Linked DNA regions of Homo sapiens: all the other regions are linked to region 3. Evidence: promoter capture Hi-C in 16 types of primary human blood cells and fetal thymus (Javierre and others, 2016). All regions are on one chromosome and are shown on one strand. The core of a region is centred on a gene start or on the middle of the fragment in contact, and the rest is flanking DNA. Distances in the headings are between cores, read along the strand shown.

Region 1 (3,254 bases), core at 323-2,822, 4.5 Mb before region 3:
GCCAGTAAATGATGCAACAGGGATTTGCACCCAGAAGTCGAACTCCAGAACACTGGTTTTACCTTTGACTCAGTTCAAATCAAACAATCCAAAAGTTTTTTGAGACTTATACCCCATTATCATCCTTTTTTTCCCCCCTCAGGGGTACTAAGAAAAGGGGTAGTGAGAACAGGGTACTAACAACAAGGATACTGAGAACAAAGTATATTAAGTATTGGGGTAGTGAGAACATGAGAACAAGGGACTAAACATAGGGGTACTGGGAACAGAGTTGTAAGAAAAGAGTACTACGTACAGGGGTACTACAGACAGGCAACTGAGTATAGCAGTACTAAAAATACGGTACTAGGAAGAGGGTTAACAGAACAGGACACTAAAAACAAAGTACTAAATACAGGAGTATTACAAATAGAGGTACTGAGAACTGGGTACTGAGAACTGGATACTGAGAATAGAGTAGTGAAAACAGAAAGAGATGACTTTCTCAGAAGTACCAACTTCATCTAGGTTCCTAAGTCTCCTTTAGCGATGAACCAGACCGATCATTTACTCTATGTCCTTCCAGCCATATCCCAGATCTATGACAGCTCTGCCGATGTCACATTATTTTTACTGAAATTTCTGCACCTATCATGAGTTCAACAGAACTGTTATTGCTTTGCACATGTTGGTATAAACTTTAATTTAGGGCAAACACTCTAATTCTCAACCACTAACCCAGTCACTGCAAACCGGCCCATTTGGAAGTGGGGAGGCAGGCCCTGCAGATGCGGTTTGCGTTAAGATCGGGTTTCTTCTTCCACCTCCCATCCCCAGGCCTCAGCTAAGTCTGATACCTCGAGTTTGACGTTTCCCGCGCTGCCAGTCGAGGCAGTCCCACCGCAGTTCAGGGCCTGGTCGCTCTTCTTCTTTTTATACTTGTCCTTGTACATCTTGTTGCGGTGTTTCTTGCACATCCACGGTTTGCGCTGCTTGGCCACCTGGCTCGTGGTCTCGCTGCAGCCTTCGTAGGTGCAGGTCTTGCTCATGCTGCCCCCACCGCTGCCCCGCCTCCGGGCGCCCCCGCTGCTGCCCTCGCCCCCCGAGTGAGTCTCCTCGTCCTCTAGATCCTCCAAACTAGCCGCGCTCTCGCCTCCCCCCGGAGGGTCCGAAGTGTCTAACAGGTCCGCCTCGTCCTCCCCAGCCTCCTCTTCGCCATCCCCGGCCCCTTCGCACAGGTACCTAACGGGCTTGCCCGCCCCAACGCTGCCCCCGGGGGCCGCAGCCTCGTCCTGCCCAGCACAGGGTTGCATCACTAGCAGGGTGAATTGAGAGGCCGCGGCCGCCACCGAGGCTGGCGCCAAGGTGGGAGCCGCAGCCGGGGCTAGGGCCGCGGGGTGGGGCACGCCGCTGGCGGCGCCCGGCCCCGCGCCCTCCGCTACACCCTGCGCCTCCATGCTGCTAAGACCTGGCCGGGGTCCACGACCCCGGGCTTTTAGCACCTGCTTGGCCTAACGGCACTTCGCGAACCAAAGACTCAGGACACGCTGGGGTAAAAGGCGCCTATACCGGGAAGGCGCCCCGACTGCGCCTGCGCGACCGCAGCCTGCGCGTCAGCGTGTGTACGCCCGCGGGCTGTCAGGGAGCGCGGCGCCTCTGGGGGCGGGGCTGAGCGCACAACCAACGGGACTGACTGCGCATGTGCGGCCGCGGCCCCTTCGGCCAGCTGGGGGATTCGTAGACAGGGTCTGGGGGCTGTGTCAGGTGAAAACCTGCAGTGGCTGGCAAGGCAGCGCCGTTTTACCTGATCCTATTGTATCTAAAGCGGTTCAAAGTATCTTCTACAGGAGTTCCAGTATGCAAATTAGGATTGTTCCTGAGCGGTCTCACGACTTGTAGTGTTAGGATGCTAATTTTATTATTTCCCCCACAAACTGCCTGCAAGGGGAGATTTGAAGCTGGGATGCAGTGGTGTCACAGCCTAGAGTCACTAGCTCGCAGTCCATGAAGGCAGAGGTGGCTTATTTGAAAATAGTGGAGCGGAGAGGGATGGGCCACACCTTTGGCCGAGTTGTATTTGCATTGAGGGATAACTTTGTTTTTTTTCTCCTGGAAACTCACTTGATTGTTAGTACTTGCTCTTTGCTGTGGCTGCTGAGATAAGTCTTAACGTTTTCGTTTAACACAGTGAAAATGTGTGAAAAGGAATACTGAATGGCAAACGTTTAAAAAAACAATGAATGTTCTACCAGTTCTATCAGTTGCTGGGCAATTGCTGGTTGTTAAATCTTGGCTTGCCCAAATCCCAGGAGAGAAAATATCCTGCCGTATCCTGAACTGTTAAGTAGATGTTCTTTTTCCCTTCATCCTATTCTTTCGCCTAGTCAGATTTCCCATCCCACCTACCGGAAAGCAATGACTTTATTCAACAAACTATAAATCCATTCACACTAAGATGTTTGGGTGCTGACATATAGGTAGATCAGTTATGTTTTAAAGAGAGGCATATGGAAGGGAGAAGGTTTGGAATTAGAGCAACCTAGGTAGTACTTCCTGTGTGACTACAGCAAGTTCGTGACAGCCTCTCCGAGCCTCAGTTTCCTCATCAGTAAAGCCTGCAGTCGGTGGTGTGCTAGCGCCAACTGATGGTAACTGGTTGCTAAAATTTCAGGAATATAATTAGCAGAAAAATTAAACACTGCTATTATTAAAAGTCTTACTACATAAACTTACAATAAGATTATATTAAAAACAAAGGGTACAAATCTCAAAACTCTTCATTTTCTAATTATTTTATTATGTTTTATCATTATCTGTGCTTTTAAGGTTATTTATGTCTATTGTATCTGTATGCGGAAATATTATTTAGTGGTGTGTTACTGCACATTTTCCCAACTCTGCCTTCAGTATGTCATGTTGATTGCTTGAAATCAGCCACTTTTGGAGTATTTACACCAGGGAAATGATCAAATGCTACGAAGCAGGTTTACACTTATTGCTGATTGTCTCTGCACTTAAGAAAGTGACAGTGAAAATGTTAATGAAGATTAAATTTAAGGCCAGGCTCAGTGGCTCCCACCTGTAATCCCAGCGCTTTGGGAGGCTCAGGCAGGTGGATCACGAGGTCACGAGTTCGAGACCAGCCTGACCAACATGATGAAACCCCGTCTCTACTAAAAATACAAAAATCAGCCAGGTGTGGTGGTCCACACCTATAATCCCAGCTACTCAGGAGGCTGAGGCATGAGAATCGCTCGAACCCAGGAGGAAGAGAT
Region 2 (3,242 bases), core at 737-3,236, 4.0 Mb before region 3:
AAAATTCTATTTAAATGTATGTACTTTTTAAATGTAAAGAAGTAGAGTAGATGACCAATAAAAGATTTCCTTTCTTTTTTTGGTGGGGGCCAGGGGGTACAGGGTCTGGCTCTATTGCCCAGGCTGGGGTGCAGTGGCACAATCTCAGTCACTGCTGCCTCTGCCTCCCCAGCTCAGGTGATCTTCCTGCCTCAGCCTCTGGAGTAACTGGGACTACAGATGTGTACCACCATGCCCAGCTAATTTTTGTGTTTTTTTGTAGGGACGGGTTTCGTCATGTTGCCCAGGCTGGTCTCGAACTCCTGGGCTCAAGCGATTCTCTTGCCTCGGCCTCTGGAGTAGCTGGGACTACAGGCATAAGCCACCAAGCCTGGCCAATATTTGCAAGACTAAAGAAATATTGACATACAATTTCACAATATGGAACGGAAATATGAGTTCAAGAAGAAAAGAAATGATGTAAAATTTCCTTCTGTTAAAAGCTTGTTCATGTAGTTTTAAAAATTGATGATTTTAGATATTAAATTGGTATTTAGATTCCACTGGCTACATTTAAAAGTTATATAACTTTTATTTTAAAATGTTAATTTATAATAAAACAGAAGTTGCTTCTTTTGTAACTATTTAAGTCAGATGAGAAATTGTGATGGTCAATCCAAAAACGTGGAAGTGAGAATACAGTCATAGTCTTTGGGGACTCCTTTGGGGGTATAAGAGCAAAATCATTTTGAAACCACTGTATTAATATATTCCTAATAGGTTTTGCTTTTTGGGATGACTGACTGCTACCTTTCTGAGATTTGAGGGAGTCACTTAACTGGTCCTAAGGCCAGGCGCGGTGACTCACGCCTGTAATCCCAGCACTTTGGGAAACTGAGGCAGGTGGATCGCTTGAGGTCAGGAATTCGAGACCAGCCTGGCTAACTTGAGGTCAAGCTTTCAAGACCAGCTTGGCCAATATGGTGAAACCCCGTCTCTACTAAAAATACAAAAATTAGACGGGAGTGGTGGTGCACAGCTGTAATTCCAGCTTCTCTGGAGGCTGAGGCATGAGAGTCGCTTGAACCTGGGAAGCAGAGGTTGCAGTGAGCCGAGATCATGCCACTGCACTCCAGCCTGGGCAACATAGTAAGACTCTGTCTCAAAACAAAACAAAAACACAACAACAACAAAACTGGTTCTAAATGCTCCGGGCAAGTACATACTGCTTTTTCTTTTTTCTGTTTTTTTTTCCCTAAGGCAGCCCTATTGAAGAGTCTGTCATCTACAATATTTTACTAATTTAAAAACACTTGTCAAGAAGGGTAAAGTATGTTCATCTTGATTTTACTCTTTGTATCCCGGAATCAGGAACTAACAGTTTTATGATAGTGATATAGACTTTACACACACACCAAGACTTAAAACACGTGGTGCAGGCGGGCTTTTGGAAATTAACTGTGCTCTGGATACAGAAGTCACAAAGCTCAGGCTGCAGAGACATTGAGGGGATAATCAGCCTTTATTGTCTCTCGTGCACTGTGCCCAGCGCTCCCTCTAGCGGCTACAAGCGCTCACTGCCCACACTCTCTACTAGGCTCTCCGGAGGCCTCGGTTTCGCTGGAGAGAAAGAGATTGCGCAGGCGCCGAGCAGCCGACGTGGCCGCAGGGGACCGTGCCTGGGGGGGTCTGCGCGGGGCCGCTGACTCGCGAGGTTCTCTGTCGCCTGCCGCCCTCGCTCCTTTTCTCCCCTTCTAGAGTGTTACGGTGACTCTTGGGTCCGAAGGGGACGGACGTCCTCCCACGTACCATTTAGAAGGTCAGAGTGGGCAGAACCTAGTCTGAGCAGGCCGGTGATGAATCCGCTGGCAAGACGCGCGCGTGGGTACTCACGTGACCTAGGCTGCGGCGGCGGCGTGCTGCGGGCTCTGTGGCGGGAGCGAGGCCGACGGGCGGGGCCGCGCGGCCGCGTGACGCGAAGCGTTCGAGAGCGCGCGTCGTGGAACGTCTTGGTTGCCACGGCAAGCGCGCGCGCGAGGCCTTGGGAACCTCGGGACCGGCCCCCGGCGAGCGCAGCGGCGCCCAGTGTAAGGGAGTGGGAGCTGGTCCGTGCCGCGGCGGCCGCGCAGGGAGCTCTCGAGGCAACGCCGGGGCGCCCGAGGTCTGGAAGGCGCAGGTGGGGCGCGGGGGAGTTCACCCCTGCGCGGTCCCTTGGGTGGGCGGGGTGGGCGCCCCAGGCCCCGCGGACTCGGCTGGGAGGCTGAGCGGGCGACGGTCACGGGACAAGGGTGGAGGGGGTGGGGACCTCATCCGAGTCTCAGAGATGGAATTTTCGAGGAAGGGAGCGATTTCGAGAGAGAATAGTTTGAGAAGTTGTTCTCAGTCCCTTCTCTCGCGGGAGTGTGGTATTTAGGGAAGCTTCGGCCTCTTAACCCATGGACTGTTAGGATGGAGGGAATCCTTCCCGCTCGATTCCTATCGCGGAGTCCTTTCGGAGCATCGCTATTGATCATTCTCGCCGCCCCAACCCCGTTGTTTACTTTGGCTTCGCAGATCTCTGTGGTCTTTTGCCCTCCCGCAGCGCCCATGGCCCCGTCAAGGTTGGGCAGCCTTTCTCTGCAAGAAGGCCCACGAACAACTGCGGTTATATTGGGATGGATTGCGCGTGATTTTACTCTTTACAATACATTCTTTCATGCTTCCTAGGGATTGAGCTGCGCGGCGGATCCCTCCGACTTAATTCTGGGCCTGAGAAAAGTTTCTCTTGGAATGCGCAGTTTCGTGACGCAGCATTATTGCGTGACTCTAGGGCTGACCCAGTTTTTCACTTTCTAATTGTAAGGAAGTGCGCTAGTAGTCCACCGAGGATCCTCGAGGTTGGCCTTATTGTATCATAATTTAACGAATTTGCGTTCCAGGTTGTTACAGCCTTTGAAATAATGGCCTCATATTTAAGAATGTAGCAATTTTTCTTTGAAATTTCCGAAAGTGGGGAAAAAAGTAATAGAAGACTGCACCTATATGGAATTATTTTCTGATTCGCAGTTCTTTATAATCGTAGACTTAATTTGGTGGCTTTATTGGACCTGTTTGAAACAGGAAGCCTTTCTGTAATGTGGTTTCGGGTCGGCTTCACCTCTGGCACTCTCTGAAACGTCGTTGTCTATGGTTTCCCTAAGAAGCTAGAATGAGCGGGATGCTACGGAGGGAGGTGTATACAGGTGTTAGACAAAGCCCCCTCCGCTTTTTTGGTAAAGGGCCAA
Region 3 (2,948 bases), core at 1-2,500:
TGTGACGTACTGGGTTTTTAGCAAGCATTTTTTAGAAAACACTTTCTCGGTGTAATTTATAAAGTTATATAAAATTTGTCAATACCTGCTTTGTTGCAGCGTGTCTTAAAAATTTCAAAAAATGTTGGCCTCTCTTTGGATCCAATAGGCATTTTTACCTACGATATTCCTCCAATGCTTGGTAAATAAGTCTGCAAAACAGAAGACCAAAATGCACTTACACAGGGATGCATTCCTTATTATGTGACTGAGGTAAAACTCAGAAGCGCTGGAAAATTTGTTTGAATTCTAATTCAGTCCCATCTCCTGGAACGGTAACAGCTTACTGTGAGGATGGGAACATTTTACAGCTGTGCTGTCCAAACCGGTGCCACTAGCCACATTAAGCACTCGAAACGTGGCTAGTGCGACTAGAGAAGAGGATTTTCATACGATTTAGTTTCAATCACGCTAACCAGTGACGCGTGGCTAGTGGGGACAGAGGGCTCCAGTTAGAGACCAACGCCGCCTGGTAATTCCCATCAGCATGTCTTCGGAATACAGCAATTACCAGGGGCTTAAGTAAGGCAAATACAGCGTGCCCAGCAGCTGTAAAACACTTCCCCAAAACAGCAATATTCCGTTAAAGTGATCGTGTTTCCAAGAAATTTCAGATGGCGTCATCTGGGACAGCTGGGAGGGAAGTTAAGTCTTGAGCTGAAGGCGGAGCCCAAAGGCCGGGCCGGAGGCGGGAAATGGAGACCCAGGGAAGGGGCGGGGCTCGAATTTGCTTGGCGAAAATCTGCCTTCGGGCAAGGACCTTTCTCTCAGGCATGGGTGGGGGTTGGCAGAGACAAAAGGGCAAGAAGCCGCGGCAGCGACCCGGGGCGTGAGGCGCTCCCCCGCCACGCTGGACTGGGACTGCGGAAGACGCGCTCGTCCCAACCCACTACCACCACCACTAACCCGCTCCAGAGGTGCAGTTCTTTTTTGGCCGGAGTAAGCTGACAAAAACCGCGCCGGTCACAAATCTGTCCCCTCACGCTTCTCCCGGCGGCGACCCACCGCCGCAAAAGACACCCGAGGCGCAGCAGAGGCGCAGCAGTGCCACAGCGGCTCCGCCTCTGCCGCCTAGTTTCAGAAGCTCGCGCCACAAGCCCGCGCTGGCCACGTGACGCCGTGACGCGACACGCAGCACACGCACCACCCGGAAGTCAGGCCTGGGTGGGCCGCTGCGGGTATTTCTCAGTGTGGCGAAAGGAAATTCCTTGTCAGGCATCCCAACCGTCAGTATCTGACCGAATAAAGCGGGAGCTGGAGTGTGTGTTCTCTTCTCGCTGACCCTTAAGAGTCCCAGGCCACCCTGCTTGGAGGGGCCGCCCCTATGCCTACTCCAAGTCCCCCATCCCTTTCTTTTTGCTCCAGCTCATGTTTGGGTGGGCGCCCTCGGGACACGACCTGGGACCTATGAAATACCTTTGTTCTGACCTTAAAAGGGATGTTCTCTCAAGACCTGTTCCCCAAAGCGAGCCGATCTTACAAAAGCTTAGAGTGGTCGGTGTGTGGTTGTGGATGACTTCACTTAGTGGTAGTGGGCGGGGCTGTTATTTGAAATCAGAGGATTTTAGTTCCAGTAGCTGTTCTGCTATTGGGTAGCAGGTGTTCAAGACCTCCGAGCCCGTTTCCTTGCTTGAAAAATTGTGAAACCCATCTTAACTCGCTCATGAAGTGTGAGGTACCTTGCTCCGCAGGGCTTGGTAGTATCTTTTGCTTTTTTTTTTGAGACGGAGTTTCGCTCTTGTGGCCCGGGCTGGTGTGCAATGGCGCAATCTCCGCTCACCGCAACTTCCGCCTCCAGGGATCAAGTGGTTCTCCTGCCTCAGCCTCCCGAGTAGCTGGGAATACAGGCATGGGCCACCACGCACGGCTAACTTTGCATTTTTAAGTAGAGACGGGGTTTCTCCGTTGTTGGTCAGTCTGGTCTCAACCTCCCGACCTCAGGTGATCTGCCTGCCTCGGCCTCCCAAAGCGCTGGGATTACAGGCATGAGCCACCACACCCGGCCCATCTTTTGCATTCTTAGGATTCGGATCACCTGTCTTCCTCGCAGGCTGAACTGGAAGACCTGACTTCATCTCCGAATTCGTTGGTTCTGTAACATGCCTAATACAAGGCTGAATAGGGTTTGTTGTAAGACCTACAAAACCTTCAAATGGATTCAGTGAGAGTTGCTCCCATGGGGGCCTTGCTGCTTCCAGAAGGTGCTTGAGCAGTAAACAGAAGCAACCTTGGATTAGGAAAAGGGTGGGCTCCGCTTGGTTCCTTAGGGACCATTTTAGTTTGATAATCAGTAATCCTTAGTTGTAGAAGGAGGCCTTACTAATGCAGATAGATTCTAAAGCTTTTGCTCTAAGTCTAATTCGCAAAGAAATACGTCTGTGATCCTTACTAATAACAGCTGCCACTTACCAAACATTTTATGAGTTAGGCATTCTGCTTTGGGTTTTCAAGCAATACCATGTTTAATCTTACAGTAATCCTGTAAATTGGTCAGTATTGTCAGATGAGGATACTGAATCAAGTAGTTAAGTAATGTGCCTGGTAGTAAGGCCCAGGTTTGAATTCTAGTCCATTTGACTTCATACACTTAACTAACCTGTGATTTATTTACCCTATAAATCAGAACAATATGCTTTGTCCCCTTTTTGTGGGGGAGGGGTGTCTCACTAGGAGTGGACTAATGAGAACCCGTGGCATGTCACACAAGTCTCAGAAATAACATTTTCTGTCATTTTATACAGCCCCCCATACCTTTATGTTTCTTGTTCTCTTTGTACCAGGGACTTGCAACTTATTAGCTCCACCATAATAGACTTTCTCACCTATTCTCTTCTAGTGCAGCTGCTCAATTTACTATTTGTATTCAATTTACAATATGCTTTAATTTTTCTTAAAAACATTATTTCCAG

Evidence for each region. Contacts are between HindIII fragments. The CHiCAGO score rates a contact against its expected background, and 5 or more counts as called.
Region 1: a contact is called between the fragment with the promoter of RFXAP here and the fragment with the promoter of ZAR1L in region 3, in 1 of 17 cell types (total CD8 T cells). The highest score is 6.3, in total CD8 T cells.
Region 2: a contact is called between the fragment with the promoter of SPART here and the fragment with the promoter of ZAR1L in region 3, in 1 of 17 cell types (naive CD4 T cells). The highest score is 6.3, in naive CD4 T cells.

Annotation. Positions count from the first base shown.
Region 1 is chr13:36,817,540-36,820,793 of GRCh38, reverse strand. It overlaps RFXAP (regulatory factor X associated protein), which reads right to left and starts at 1,572. Exons shown (of 3, transcript NM_000538.4): 1 at 837-1,572. The coding sequence starts at 1,436. LOC124903158 (a long non-coding RNA gene) reads left to right here and starts at 1,723. Exons shown (of 2, transcript XR_007063760.1): 1 at 1,723-2,627. RefSeq lists enhancers at 765-994, 1,005-1,054 and a silencer at 1,285-1,654. The HindIII fragment of the contact is 8,641 bases long and covers 1-3,254 here.
Region 2 is chr13:36,345,138-36,348,379 of GRCh38, reverse strand. It overlaps SPART (spartin), which reads left to right and starts at 1,986. Exons shown (of 9, transcript NM_015087.5): 1 at 1,986-2,155. It overlaps SPART-AS1 (SPART antisense RNA 1), which reads right to left and starts at 1,949. Exons shown (of 5, transcript NR_045181.1): 1 at 1,873-1,949. RefSeq lists a silencer at 2,088-2,137. The HindIII fragment of the contact is 1,461 bases long and covers 939-2,399 here.
Region 3 is chr13:32,313,665-32,316,612 of GRCh38, reverse strand. It overlaps ZAR1L (zygote arrest 1 like), which reads left to right and starts at 1,250. Exons shown (of 6, transcript NM_001136571.2): 1 at 1,250-1,298; 2 at 2,063-2,283. It overlaps BRCA2 (BRCA2 DNA repair associated), which reads right to left and starts at 1,105. Exons shown (of 27, transcript NM_000059.4): 1 at 946-1,105; 2 at 86-191. The coding sequence starts at 152. RefSeq lists an enhancer at 446-715, a promoter at 824-1,320, a cis regulatory region at 1,649-1,715 and a silencer at 1,834-2,054. The HindIII fragment of the contact is 7,545 bases long and covers 1-1,526 here.